3 separate regions of the Homo sapiens genome follow, and regions 1 and 2 are each linked to region 3. Evidence: promoter capture Hi-C in 16 types of primary human blood cells and fetal thymus (Javierre and others, 2016). All regions are on one chromosome and are shown on one strand. Each heading gives the region's core, a stretch centred on a gene start or on the middle of the fragment in contact. The rest is flanking DNA. Distances are from core to core; before and after follow the strand shown. Region 1 overlaps STXBP5-AS1 (STXBP5 antisense RNA 1). Region 2 overlaps SHPRH (SNF2 histone linker PHD RING helicase). Region 3 holds the start of FBXO5 (F-box protein 5).

What was found. Contacts are between HindIII fragments. The CHiCAGO score rates a contact against its expected background, and 5 or more counts as called.
Region 1: a fragment that was not itself captured here is called in contact with the fragment with the promoter of FBXO5 in region 3 in 1 of 17 cell types (total B cells); the score reaches 10.8 in total B cells.
Region 2: a fragment that was not itself captured here is called in contact with the fragment with the promoter of FBXO5 in region 3 in 1 of 17 cell types (total B cells); the score reaches 11.3 in total B cells.

Annotation. Positions count from the first base shown.
Region 1 is chr6:147,197,559-147,201,708 of GRCh38, reverse strand. The region is part of intron 1 of STXBP5-AS1 (STXBP5 antisense RNA 1); the gene reads left to right. Among named protein-coding and RNA genes, the nearest start is that of STXBP5, 4.8 kb to the left of the region's middle. The HindIII fragment of the contact is 2,176 bases long and covers 1,154-3,329 here.
Region 2 is chr6:145,955,169-145,959,367 of GRCh38, reverse strand. It overlaps SHPRH (SNF2 histone linker PHD RING helicase), which reads left to right. Exons shown (of 30, transcript NM_001042683.3): 2 at 4,014-4,199. The coding sequence starts at 4,046. Among named protein-coding and RNA genes, the nearest start is that of SHPRH, 7.1 kb to the left of the region's middle. The HindIII fragment of the contact is 1,103 bases long and covers 2,194-3,296 here.
Region 3 is chr6:152,981,369-152,985,442 of GRCh38, reverse strand. FBXO5 (F-box protein 5) reads left to right here and starts at 2,402. Exons shown (of 5, transcript NM_012177.5): 1 at 2,402-2,586. The coding sequence starts at 2,484. RefSeq lists enhancers at 809-908, 1,439-1,558, 1,849-2,068 and silencers at 2,099-2,418, 2,899-2,968. The HindIII fragment of the contact is 9,521 bases long and covers 1-3,496 here.

The DNA of each region.
Region 1 (4,150 bases), core at 992-3,491, 5.8 Mb after region 3:
TTCCTCAGGTTTAAAATGAGATTAATACCACCTTCTTAGAAATTTATGAGCATGAACTGGAGGGGGAAAAGAAAGAATATGAAAAGTTTGTACTGCATTGCTTAGTACTCTGTAGACACTCAAAAATGTCAGTTTCCTATTCTATCAGGGTCCTTGAGGTAAAGGGGACTTCAAAGAGTCACCAATTTAAGCCAGTTTCCTACTTCTGACTCTAGAATGTTTGTTTTTATTTCTATACTCTATCTTTTCCATCAGGTTATGAACTCATTCTGACATTCTCAAAATTTCAGTTCTTAGTGAATACCTGGAATTTAAGATGGATATAGCCTACCTTTGTGAACTTGCAGTCCATCCTCTGTGCTCAGAGACACGGGGACTTATCCGAAAATCCAAATGGCCAAAACCAACAATGGCCCAAAATAACGACCTTTATTATAGCAAAGGTAAAATAATCGATCCTCAAACTCACAGTAATTCTTATAAGTCAGTTAGAATTAATCAATTTGTTTTTTCAAATTAGAACTGAAATTTTGAGAATTTTATTTGGAATTAAACATTTTAAGTTTAGAATTAAATACATTAAACTAAATAATCTATATTATTCATTTTTAAATTGAGCACAAAACAGAGAATTTTACCCATCATAATTTCTCAGAAAAGTTGTGTTTATTTGTTTTATTTGAATGAATGAGTAAGTATGTTGATTTCAAGCAATTCAATAGCTTCTGCCTTTAGGTGACATTCTCCTGAATGAAATTATTTCTTACCTGTTTGAAGAATGGACCATAAGGTGATGATGTAATAGTATACTACTGACAAATTATAAATATATATCTTACATTTAGCTGAGTCAAGGTGGCACTAAAAAATATTCTGCCAACACAATGAAAATAATAAGACAACTTTTTAAGAAAACGAAACTACACATACACTAAAAGAATGTTAGCATATGAAATTGACAGGTGCAGAAGACTAAAGACCAAGAATTCATAACATTTCTGAATCTATCAGTCCTCATTATCCAGTTTAAAGGTTACCAGACTAATGCAGGACCTGGTACAGATCGCAAAGGTAAGCTGGATGCTGATTGAGATGGAGAAGGCAGAAACTGAAAATAAACATTTTAATGAGAAATTATTTAATGGCAAAAGCTTTCTGGAAAGTAGAACAAATCTACCTCACTTGCTAGCATTCATTTTTATTGACTTAGTTTCAGTTTATTGAGTCCTGAAGGCTGTGTGCATGACAATAATTAATTCACTACATAGTTTAATAGACTATTGAATTTAAATTATTTGGAAATTGCAGCACAGATGTTAATTAGTTGGTTTGTCTAGTTCAAGCCACCTTTTCTGAATGAGTTCCCTAGCCCCTGCTAAATGACGGGCCTGGGCAACTCTATTTTAATCAGGTCCCCTTGTTTCCTGGTCCAAACCACTAGGATCTGAGACTGAAACCAGAAATAAGGCAAGCCAAGAGATAATCTTCTGGGAATTTGGAACTGGATTACAAAATTACAAATTAATCTGAATGAGGAGGAAGCCATGTTGTCCTAGGGCTAGGTAGTGTGTTTTATTTCCTACACACCACAGCTGAGTGTACCCATTCTTAGACAGAACTCGGGAGGATGGAGCAGACACAGAGATGACAGAGAATGACCACCAGTGACCCAAGGAGGTCGAGAGTAGAATCTTGATTTCTGACTTTCTGGTTCCCGAATCTTATGCTTTATGGAAACTTGAGACATTCTTTCCTTCTTTGCGTTAAGTAGTTTGGTTATATTTCTGGTTTTTGCAATCAAATATTCTGATAGCAGTTTAGATACAACTTGCATCTAATTGTAAAAGAAAGTAGAGATCATTGCAGCCATCTGTCACTCACCATTTTTACCTTCTACTGTCAGTTCTTCCTACAGTGAAGAGATGGCTGCAATAATCCAGCAAGGGGTTGGTGGCTTGGACCAGAATGGTTAAAAGTGATTGTAGTGCACAGGGGGTTAGATTCGGGGTTATATTTTAATGGTAGAGCCAAACGGATTTGCTGATGGTATGGGGGTATCAGAGACAGGAGAGGTAAATATGATGCCTCGAGTTTTGGCCTGAGCACTTCAAAGTGTGGTACTACAATTTCATTTCCACAATTGTGACTCCTGACTAATTTCTGGTTACCATTTGTTCCTCAGTGGACTCAACAAATATCATTAGCTAAATGCACAAGACTCATCTGGGAACTAGCAATCCACTATATTATGATTTTTATTTTTTTAAGATGGAGTTTCACTCTTGTTGCCCAGGCTGGAGTGCAATGGCATGATCTCAGCTCACCCCAACCTCCGCCTCCTGGGTTCAAGCAATTCTCCTGACTCAGCCTCCCAAGTAGCTGGGATTCCAGGCATGCACCACCATGCCTGGCTAATTTTTTTGGATTTATGGTAAAGAGGGGGTTTCTCCATGTTGGTCAGGCTGGTCTTGAACTTTTTTTATTTTTTTGATGCCAAGTCTCACTCTGTCACCCAGGATGGAGTGCAGTGGCGTGATCTTGGCTCACTGCAACCTCCGCCTCCCAAGTGCAAGTGATTCTCATGACTCAGCCTCCCAAGTAGCTGGGACTACAGGCATGCGCCACCACACCTGGCTAATCTTTGTATTTTTAGTAGAGACGGGGTTTCACCGTGTTGGCCAGGCTGGTCTTGAACTCCTGACCTCAAGTGATCTGCCCACCTTGGCCTCCCAAAGTGCTGGGATTACAGGTGTGAGCCACCACGCCCGGCCCATTGTGATATTTTATAAGCTCTGGCCTTTCTACAAAAACAGATCAGGCAGATGTTAGTGAGCCTTGACTATTGCAGAGATTACCTCTGTAATTTAATATTTAATATTATTTGTAAGGGTGTAATTAAACTATAGACGAAAATGTCTAGACAAGGGTCAGAAAGTCCGAGTGAAGAGAAAATTCCAGAAGTGCAAAACAAAACTAATAGAACCAAATGTACAGTTAAATGTAAATTAGTAGGCATTAATATATAATATGAGTGAAAAATAACGTCAAATTCTAAAAACCTAGACCCTGATCAGGCAATCAGAAATTGCTTGATACATCTTCATATATTTCAAGTGCTGTTTCTACAATGGGAATGGTATTTCTAAAATGGGAAGAGTATCTGAGGTAAGAAATAATGCTCCCACTAGTCTTAATTTTAATATTTTAGGATTTGAATATTATTGTAAATACATTGAACATTTTGCTAAACTTTTCCCAAAGGGTTTGCTTTTCTTTTCAAATAACTCATTAAAATTTGATTTGTGGACTAAAGAGCAAGCAATAAAGCTTGTTCCTTATGGAATTACTCACAGCTAATATACTGTGGTAATGAAATAAGCTTGAAACAGCAGTGTAAGTTAATATTTTGTTCCTTCCTCACCTTCACTGCCTCCTTCCACTGCATCCCGCATTCCACCCCTGGATTCGCACCTATATATATATTTATATATAGACAGCGACTAATCGTATATCATATTACTTCTAAAAAGTATTCTCAAAGGGCAGGCCAAGCACACCAAGTGTGATTCTGAGGGCTGTCGCCCAGGCTGGAGTGCAGTGTCCCGATCTCAGCTCATTGCAACCTCCGCCTCCCTGGTTCAAGCGATTCTCCTGTCTCAGCCTCCTGAGAAGCTGGGATTACAGGCACCCGCCACCATGCCCGGCTAATTTTTGTATTTTTAGTAGAGATGGGGTTTCACCATATTGGCCAGGCTGCTCTTGAACTCCTGACCTCAAGCGATCCTCCCAGCTTGGTCTCCCAAGGTGTTAGGATTACAGGCATGAGCCACAGCGCCTGGCCATCTTTTTTTTTTTAATTAAAAACTATGCAGCACGCAAAGTAGTACTCTTCATCTGAAAAATAGGTCAGTAACTAAACACCAACATACTAATAGAAAACTGTCTGCTTTTTCCCCTCAGAGAGAGTTGCCTGACAGGGCAGCCCAGTGAGACAGTGTTAATTGAGACCGATGTAACAGTGCCTGCCATCGTAGGCTCTGGGGCTGTGTCACCCCTCTTAGTCACTGAACTGTGGAACATTTAGATGCAAACTCTTTTCTTTCTGGTCAACCCTAAAGATTACCACATAAGAAATCAAAAAGGACCAAAA
Region 2 (4,199 bases), core at 1,496-3,995, 7.0 Mb after region 3:
TATTTAAACATATTTAAATATAGAAAATGTACAATAAAGATATGGTATAAAAGATAAAAAATAGTACACCTTTGTGGGGTACTTAGCATGAATGCAGCTTATAACACTGAAGGTTGCTCTGGGTTAGTCAGGGAGTGAATGTGAAGGCCTGGGACATTACTGTACACTTCTGTAGACTTTGTAAACACTGTACACTTATGCTACACAAAGTTTATTAAAAAATAAAGTAATGCGGCTAGGCGCGGTGGCTCACGCCTGTAGTCCCAGCACTTTGGGAGGCTGAGGCATGCAGATCTTGAGTTCAGGAGTTCAAAACCATCCTGGCTAACACATGAAACCCCGTCTCTACTAAAAATACAAAAAAAAAGTTAGCTGGGCATAGTGGCAGGCGCCTGTAGTCCCAGCTACTCAGGAGGCTGAGGCAGGAGAATGGCATGAACCCAGGAGGTGGAGCTTGCAGTGAGCAGAGATCACGCCACTGCACTCCAGCTGGGCAACAGAGTGAGTCTCTATCTCAATAAATAAATAAATAAATAAATGCATTATGATGTTACAATGGCTATGATGTCACTAGTCCATAGGAATTTTTCAGCTCCCTTATGGAACCACTGTAATATTTGGTCCCTCATTGACCAAAATGTCATTATACAATGCATAACTGTATTGAAAGTTAAGTAGTCACATGCAGCCAATAACTACCTTATTGGATTTGCTTTGGCCAATAGTAGCTAGAAACTACTTCCTTGGAGGTGCCAAGGAAATCACTTCCTTTGAATCATAGGGCCACCTTGTTCCTAAATAAAGGTTCAGTCATCAGGGAAGGAGGATAGACCTTAGGCAGGTAAATAATGTCACTTTAGTTTCTTTTATGGTTATTGGTCTATTCATATTTTCCTTCTTGGGCCAGTTTTGTTCATTTGTATTTTGTTAGCAAAATTTTATCACTTTATAATTTATCATTTTATCTAGATTTTTCAGATTTATTGAATAAAGTTATACTTAATATTAAAATTTCTAAATCTCGTGCATCTTTTTGTTTTTGCTCTTTAAATCAACTTTATGATATAATTTATGTATAAGAAAATTCAATTTAAAGTATATAATTTGATGAGTTTTGACAGATGTATACTCTGCAATCATGTGTTGAACATTTATGTCACCCCAAAGCCTGCCTTCCTGCTCCTTTACTGTCAGTCACCTCTTTATACTTCCTTGCCCCTGGTAACCACTCATCTACTTTCTGCAATCAGGTTTTTGCCATTTCTAGAATTTCATGTAAATGGAATCATATAGTATATAGTCTTTCACATCTAGCTTTCTTCAGTTTAGCATAATGCTTTAACAGTTCATTCAGGTTATTTTACAGAAGTCTCTTTTTATCACAGAATAGTATTCCATTGTGTGACTATGCCACAATTTGTCCATTCACCAGTTGATGGACATTTGGGTTTTCTTCCAGTTTGGGGCTTTTAATAGTAAAGCTGTTAACATTCAAGTTTAAATTTTTGTGGATTTATGTTTTGATTTCTCTTGGATAAATACCTAAGAGAGGGATTACTAGGCTGCATAGTAAGTTATATTCAATTTTATTAGAAACTGATACTTTTCCAAAGTGACTGTGCTGTGTTCAAATGTTGGAGAGTTCAGTTCTGTTTGAGCCATACTCTCAGTGTTTTAAATTTTTGACTATTTTAGTATATGAATAGTGGCATCTCATTGTGATTTGTGGGTTGAATTTGTATTGCTTTAATGACTGATGCTGGTGAAAATATTTTCATATGCTTATTTTACACTTATAGGTCATCTTTGGTGAAATGTCTATTCAAAATTTTTGACTTTTTTAAATGTTTGTCTTACTATTAATTTGTGAGAGTTCTTTATATATTCTGCAAACATATCCTTCATCAGATACTTGATTTGCTAATATTTTCTCCCATCTGTGACTTGCTGTCATATTTTGATGACAGTATCTTTTGAAGAACCAAAATATTTAATTTTGATGAAACTTAGTTTATCATATTCTTACATAGTCTATGGTTTTTGTTTCCTGCTTAAAAATTTTTGTGCCTTTTTTTTGGGCTAATCCAATGTCATTTAGGTTTTCTCCTCTGTTTTCTTTGAGAAGTTTTAGTTTTAGCTTTTATAGTTTATTATCTATTTTTAGTTAATTCTTACATTTTAGGAGGTAAAGCTTCATTTCATTGCATATTGGTATCCATTTACTAAAAGGATACCTTTCCCATTGACTGCCTCTGAACTTCTTTCAAAAATCAATTGACCATCCATGTGTGGGTCCACTACAGGACATTTCCCTTGATCTATATGTTGGTCTTTACACCACTACTGCACCATTTTTATTTCTTTTGACATATGTCTTGGAATCAGTGTAAGTCATTCAACTTTATTTTTCTTTTCTAAAATTATATTGACTTTCCTGTATTGTAGGCATTTTAGTATAAATTTTAACATCAGGTTGTCAGTTTCTACAGAACAAACCTGTTGGAATTTTGAATGGGATTGCTTTTCTATAGGTCAGTACTAAGAAATTGACATCTGAACATTTTGAGTCTTCTAGTCCATGAACATAGTACACTGTATAGATCTCTGATTATACTGTTATACTATTTTCTAAATTTTTATGTATGCTTGAAAATTTTCAGAATGAAAGTATAGTAAGTTATCTTTTACAGAAATTTAAAAATCAAGAAAAAAGTTTACTATATTTATACACATATTTTTTGTTTTTGCTTTTTATTTCCTTGTGTGTGGATCCAGATTTCCATCTGATGTCATATTTCTTCTACCCAAGCGCTTCTTACATTACTTAGATTGTAGGTATACAGGTGATAAGTCCTTTTGGCTTTTGTTGATCTTTTTTTCACCTTCATTTTTGAAAGATATTTTGCTGGGTTTAGAGCTGTGGGGTGGGAGCAGTGTCTAAACCAGAGAAATAGGGCCAATCTGGAGAGAAGTCCTCACTTTTCAGTAATTTAATTATGGCATACCTTATTGTGATTGTTCTTTATGTTTGCCCTGATTGGGTTTCATTGAGCTTCTTGGTTTTCTGAGTTGATGGTTTTTATAGAAGTTGGAAAATTTTCATGCATGATTTTTTCAAAAAGTTTTTTGTATCCTTTCCATTCTTTGCTGCTGAGATTCCAGTTTTATGCATGTTTGACTCCTTAACATTGTCTAGTAGGTTTCTGATGTTCTATTTATTGTTTTTTCAGTCTTTGTTTATCTCTACTTCATTTTTGACAGTTTCTGTTGTTACTGTTGTTTCCATTGTTTAAGCTTATTCTGCTTCTTTTTTTCTTTGCCATTTCTAATCTGCTGGTAATCTCATACAATGTGTTTTTCGTTTTAGATGTTGCATTTCCATCTGCATAAATTCTATAGGAGTCACTTGTATATCTATCATTTTTCTTTGTCATATTCATGTTTTCCTCTACCTTTAACATATTGAGAATATTTACAGTAGCTGTTTGAATGTTTGTTTCTGCTAATTATATCATCTGTGTCTTTTCTGGGGCTTTTTGATTTTTTTCTTGTAATGGGTCTTATTTTTCTGTTTTATTTTCATTTTTTTTGCGTGCCTGATAATTTTAGATTTGATGCCAGACATTTGTGTTGGATTTTGTTTCGCTCTTTTAAGTATTGTTGGGCTTTGTTCTGAGGGGCAGTTAAATTACTTGGGATTGAGAGATTTACCTTCCTATTATATTGCTTATTAAATGTATTTCTACAATTTATTTTATTTTATACAACAAATTGCCTTTACTATTAAAGACTAGCAAAACCATTAGAATTTATTTGATAAATGAGATTATGGTTAATATGTTCATTCCTTAGTCATAATGACCTGGTAAAAAAATTACTCATTGCCTTATATCTCACAGAAGATTTCATATTATGTTTATGGGCTATGAATTTATGCTGAATTTCTCATCTGGTAACCCTTAAATACTAAATCATCTCTTGTTATACCTCCTGTTGTTTCATTTGTCCTCTAGAGTTCACAGTTACCAGCCAAGAAAACTTGAAAATGAGCAGCCGACGGAAACGTGCTCCTCCAGTGAGGGTAGATGAGGAAAAGAGGCAGCAGCTTCATTGGAATATGCATGAGGACAGAAGGAATGAACCTATCATCATAAGTGATGATGACGAGCAGCCCTGCCCAGGTTCAGATACCTCTTCTG
Region 3 (4,074 bases), core at 1,153-3,652:
AGCGAGACTCAGTCTCAAAAAAATACAAATAAAAACTAATGTAATGAGAAACCTTGCCTGCTTCGAATTTTGTATTTATGCCAGCATCTGAAAATAGAAGAGGTGAATACAATTATCTCTAAGGTCAAACTGTGAAGTAATGTGAAATGTACTAAAACCAACCAGGACTCCAGCAGATAGTGTTATAGGCTAGCATAGCATAAGAGGAAAGGACATGGACTTTTTGAATCCTGCAGACGGGCACTCGAATCTCCGCTTACTAGCTGTGTGGTTTTGGTAGCCACAGTGAGAATTAACTCACACTGAGAAGCACGACCATTGTACACTGAAAATAATGCTAACCTATTGTGAGAATGAAAGGCTAACATTTACATTCTTTTTTTTACATAAAAAAGCTATTATAATTTCAATATTCTATCAACAAATAACTACCTTGCCAAAATCCTTCCAACAGCTAACCACTGCAATCAGAAGAAAGTCTAAACTCTGCATGGAAAAACTACAAGGTCCCACAGGATCTGGCTTCTGCCTACCTCTCTAACCTCATCTCCTCTCTCTCTTGTTCACTAAGTCGTAGTCAGGCATTCCCTCTGCTTATTATTCCCTCTGCTTATTATGCAGCCCTGCATTGCCAGTTCAACGCATCTGGGTTCAAAGCCTCAGAAAGCGTCCTGACCATCCAAAATCCTTAACCTATACTAATCTGCATTCTCTACCCCCGATTACATTCTTTCATATCCTCTTTCGTGTTCTGAAATTGTTCACTGTCAACTTCTTTCCCATTGGTCTCTGTAAACTCCCTAAAGGACAGGACTTTGTCTTTTCAACCCTGAATCTCCAGGATCTAGCCCCAGGGCCAGGTTAGGGTGAGGCAAGGAAGCACAGGCCTCAGGTGCGTTTACGGGGATGAAAAAAATTTAAGTCATCAAGAGTGACACTATTTTAACATTTTTAAAAATGAAAAAGGCAAAAAACCCATGATGAACTAATTATCAAAATTTTAGGTAAAGACAGGATCCACCCAGCACTTGTATGATTCATCCTAATCCTGGCCGCGCCCCACAACTAATTATCAAAATTTTAGGTAAAGACAGGATCCACCCAGCACTTGTATGATTCATCCTAATCCTGGCCGCGCCCCACCGGACTCGTCACTAACGGTACTGAAAACTGACTACAGCCAAGAACTCACTCCGAGGCTGCAGAAAGGCACCAGAGGGAAACAGCAAAGGAGGATTCGCCGTTTTGGAGTTCACATCCCGTTGCTTCACTGGGCTGTAGCCATAAAGCTGAGTTCAGGGAATGCACTGCCCTACTTAAGTGCATATTCAAATTGTGAAAAGTTAAGCATCACTAATACTCCGGTACACTTTCATACTGACGTCCATGCCAGCCATCACTAAAAACTCCCTTGGCCACGGGGGTCCAGCCCAAGAGGGCGGGCACTTCTATTTATTCTTTTTTTGGGAGCAGGACTACTGTCTCCTACACCTGGCCCTTTAAGGAAAGGAACAAAAACCCAGGGGAGCGTAGCTGCACACTCAGTAAACTTAACGTTCCTATAAACCAGTAGCGTCTGAAGTGTGGTTGAAAATACAAATAAACGCGCTTGCAAGGAAGAAGTGCCTCGGTCCTACCCTCGGCCCCGCCGGAAGGCCCTGGGAGATGCAGCCGCAGGTCTCCTGCTACAGCCGCTGGGGAAGGCCGCACAGCCTCCTCGCCCACCCCGGAGGAAAAAATCGCGGGGGACTCCAGTGCGCAGGCGCCGACCCGCCAACTCCGCAGCCACAGCCCGCCAAGGCGCCTGCGCAGAGGCGTGGGTCAAGGGGAGGGTCGAGTTAGGAGGGAGAGCAGAGCGCGCGCGTAAATCCTAGAGAGGCGGGCTAAGCTGGACTGGGGGGAGGGTCCGTCTTCCGGAAAGTCTGGATTCCCGGACGAGCCGAGTTGCTGCTCACCGAACTCCCGTTCGAGAGATGATCGAAGAAAGTCGGCTACCATTTGTACCCATCAAAGATCTCCAGATGGAAGCCAGCGCTGAATTTGGGCTGAGATTAGGACTTGCAGGAGGCCGGTCCAGAAGACGGCGGAAGGAATCTTGGCGGGCGCACGCATGCGTGATAGACCCTCCACACGTGTGGCCGGGCCGCGGCCTCCCCGTGCTCGGAGGTCCCGCCCCCGGCCGTAGCATCTTTCCGGACGTGGGGAGCCGGTAAGCTGGAAGGGGGCTGGGCTTCGCGGCTCGGCCCCGCCTCGGCAGCCTCCAATTGGGCGCGGACGAGGGCGCCCCCACCCACTGCCCTCCTATTGGTGCGCGCATGCAAGCGACGCGTCTCATTGGACCGCGCGGATTTAGGCACCAAATTCAAAGATTTTAAAAGTACCAGCTGGCGCCTTTTAAGAGATACAGGTCTGTGAAGCAGGCAGGTTGCTCAGCTGCCCCCGGAGCGGTTCCTCCACCTGAGGCAGACTCCACGTCGGCTGGCATGAGCCGGCGCCCCTGCAGCTGCGCCCTACGGCCACCCCGCTGCTCCTGCAGCGCCAGCCCCAGCGCAGTGACAGCCGCCGGGCGCCCTCGACCCTCGGATAGTGAGTGAGGGGAGCGGTCGCGAGGGGGGCGCGCACGCCAGGAGGGGTGCACGGGGAGGGTCGCAGCCTGAGACCCTGACCCGACGTCCCTCGGAGCCTGGACGCGCGGCCATGCCACACGCCCGGCCTCGGGCGGCGGCAGCGGTTCCTGGGTCCGGGAGGAGGGCGGCTGGGTGTCGGGGGGAAGCCAGAAGAGCCAGATGTGCAGGGGCGGGATGGCGGGCCGCGGGGTCCCGCCACCCACGCCGACCGTGGACTCCAGCCCCGGGAGGTGCGGGTCGTGGCATCCCAGGGCGCCCTTTTTCCTCCTCGGAAGACCCACCTACCCCACCCTGCTTGAATAGGCGCCAAATGCCCCTCCCCTCCCCCACCCCGGGGCCCCCGGCGGTGACAGGGCTGCGAGCGAGAAGCCCCCAGGGCCTGGCCAGGTGCCTCACCTTCTCCCCCTGCGCCCCTTTTCTACATCTGCCCCGCACCCTCACAGCCAAAGGCAGTTTCCCCGATTTTTCGCGGTCCCAGCCTTGCTGGCGGGCGCGGGAGATCGCGCTCGCGGTTATCTCCCGCCTCCTCCGCGTGTCCCGCGCCCTGAGGGGCAGCCCCACCGATCCCTCAGGAGTTCCAGGGTCTCCCTCCCCACTCCCGCCAAATGGAGAGACACCCCCCCAACTCATTGGACCAAACTCAACTGGGACATCCAAACAAAAACGTTACTTTTTCCCAATTTTTTCTCCCTTTGCCCGTTAACCCAGTCTCAGGGCCTGGAGTGGAAAGGGAAGACTTTAAAAAAAGCAATTTTTACTACGAACCTTGAATTTGTCCATAGTATTAAGATGATTTTGTAAGAATCGAAGAATTGGTGACTTTTTCCCGATAACTCATGAAGAATTAGATAGTCCTTTATTTCAAAGCTTGCAGAGAATGGAATGCACTCAAATGCTTATTTTTATCCTCTTTGTTGCTACCTCTAAATAAAATCTATATGCACTTATTTTTACCTGAGAAATAACCCAAAATGAAAAAATTTAGCAATTCGGCATTGTACTATTTTGTAATGACTCTATTATTAAAAAAGAACTCTAGAAAAAAATACTTAATTTTAATTTTAATAGATTAAATATATTTCTAGAAGATCCTGGATCGTCAGTCTACCATCGAAATTCTGAAGCTTGATGGCCTTATGAGGGTTTTTTTTTTTTCTTTTTTGATAACTCTAATTGTCTTTACTACCTTGCTCCTCAGAAAGAAATGACTGCCTGTTGGAATTTTTTCCCCAGTTTACAGGTTTGAGGAGATGAAATTAAAAATACATATATGTTACTTCCAAGTAGTTTTCAAAGGAGGCTTTTGTAAAATTTTCTCTTAAAGATTACTTTATGGTCACAAGCATTGGGCCTCTTAAATTCTTAAGGAATAGCCATGCCTAACGTTGACCACATGGTCGTTATCTGTAGGTATTAGAGACTGGAACTTAATTATTTAACAGAAGAG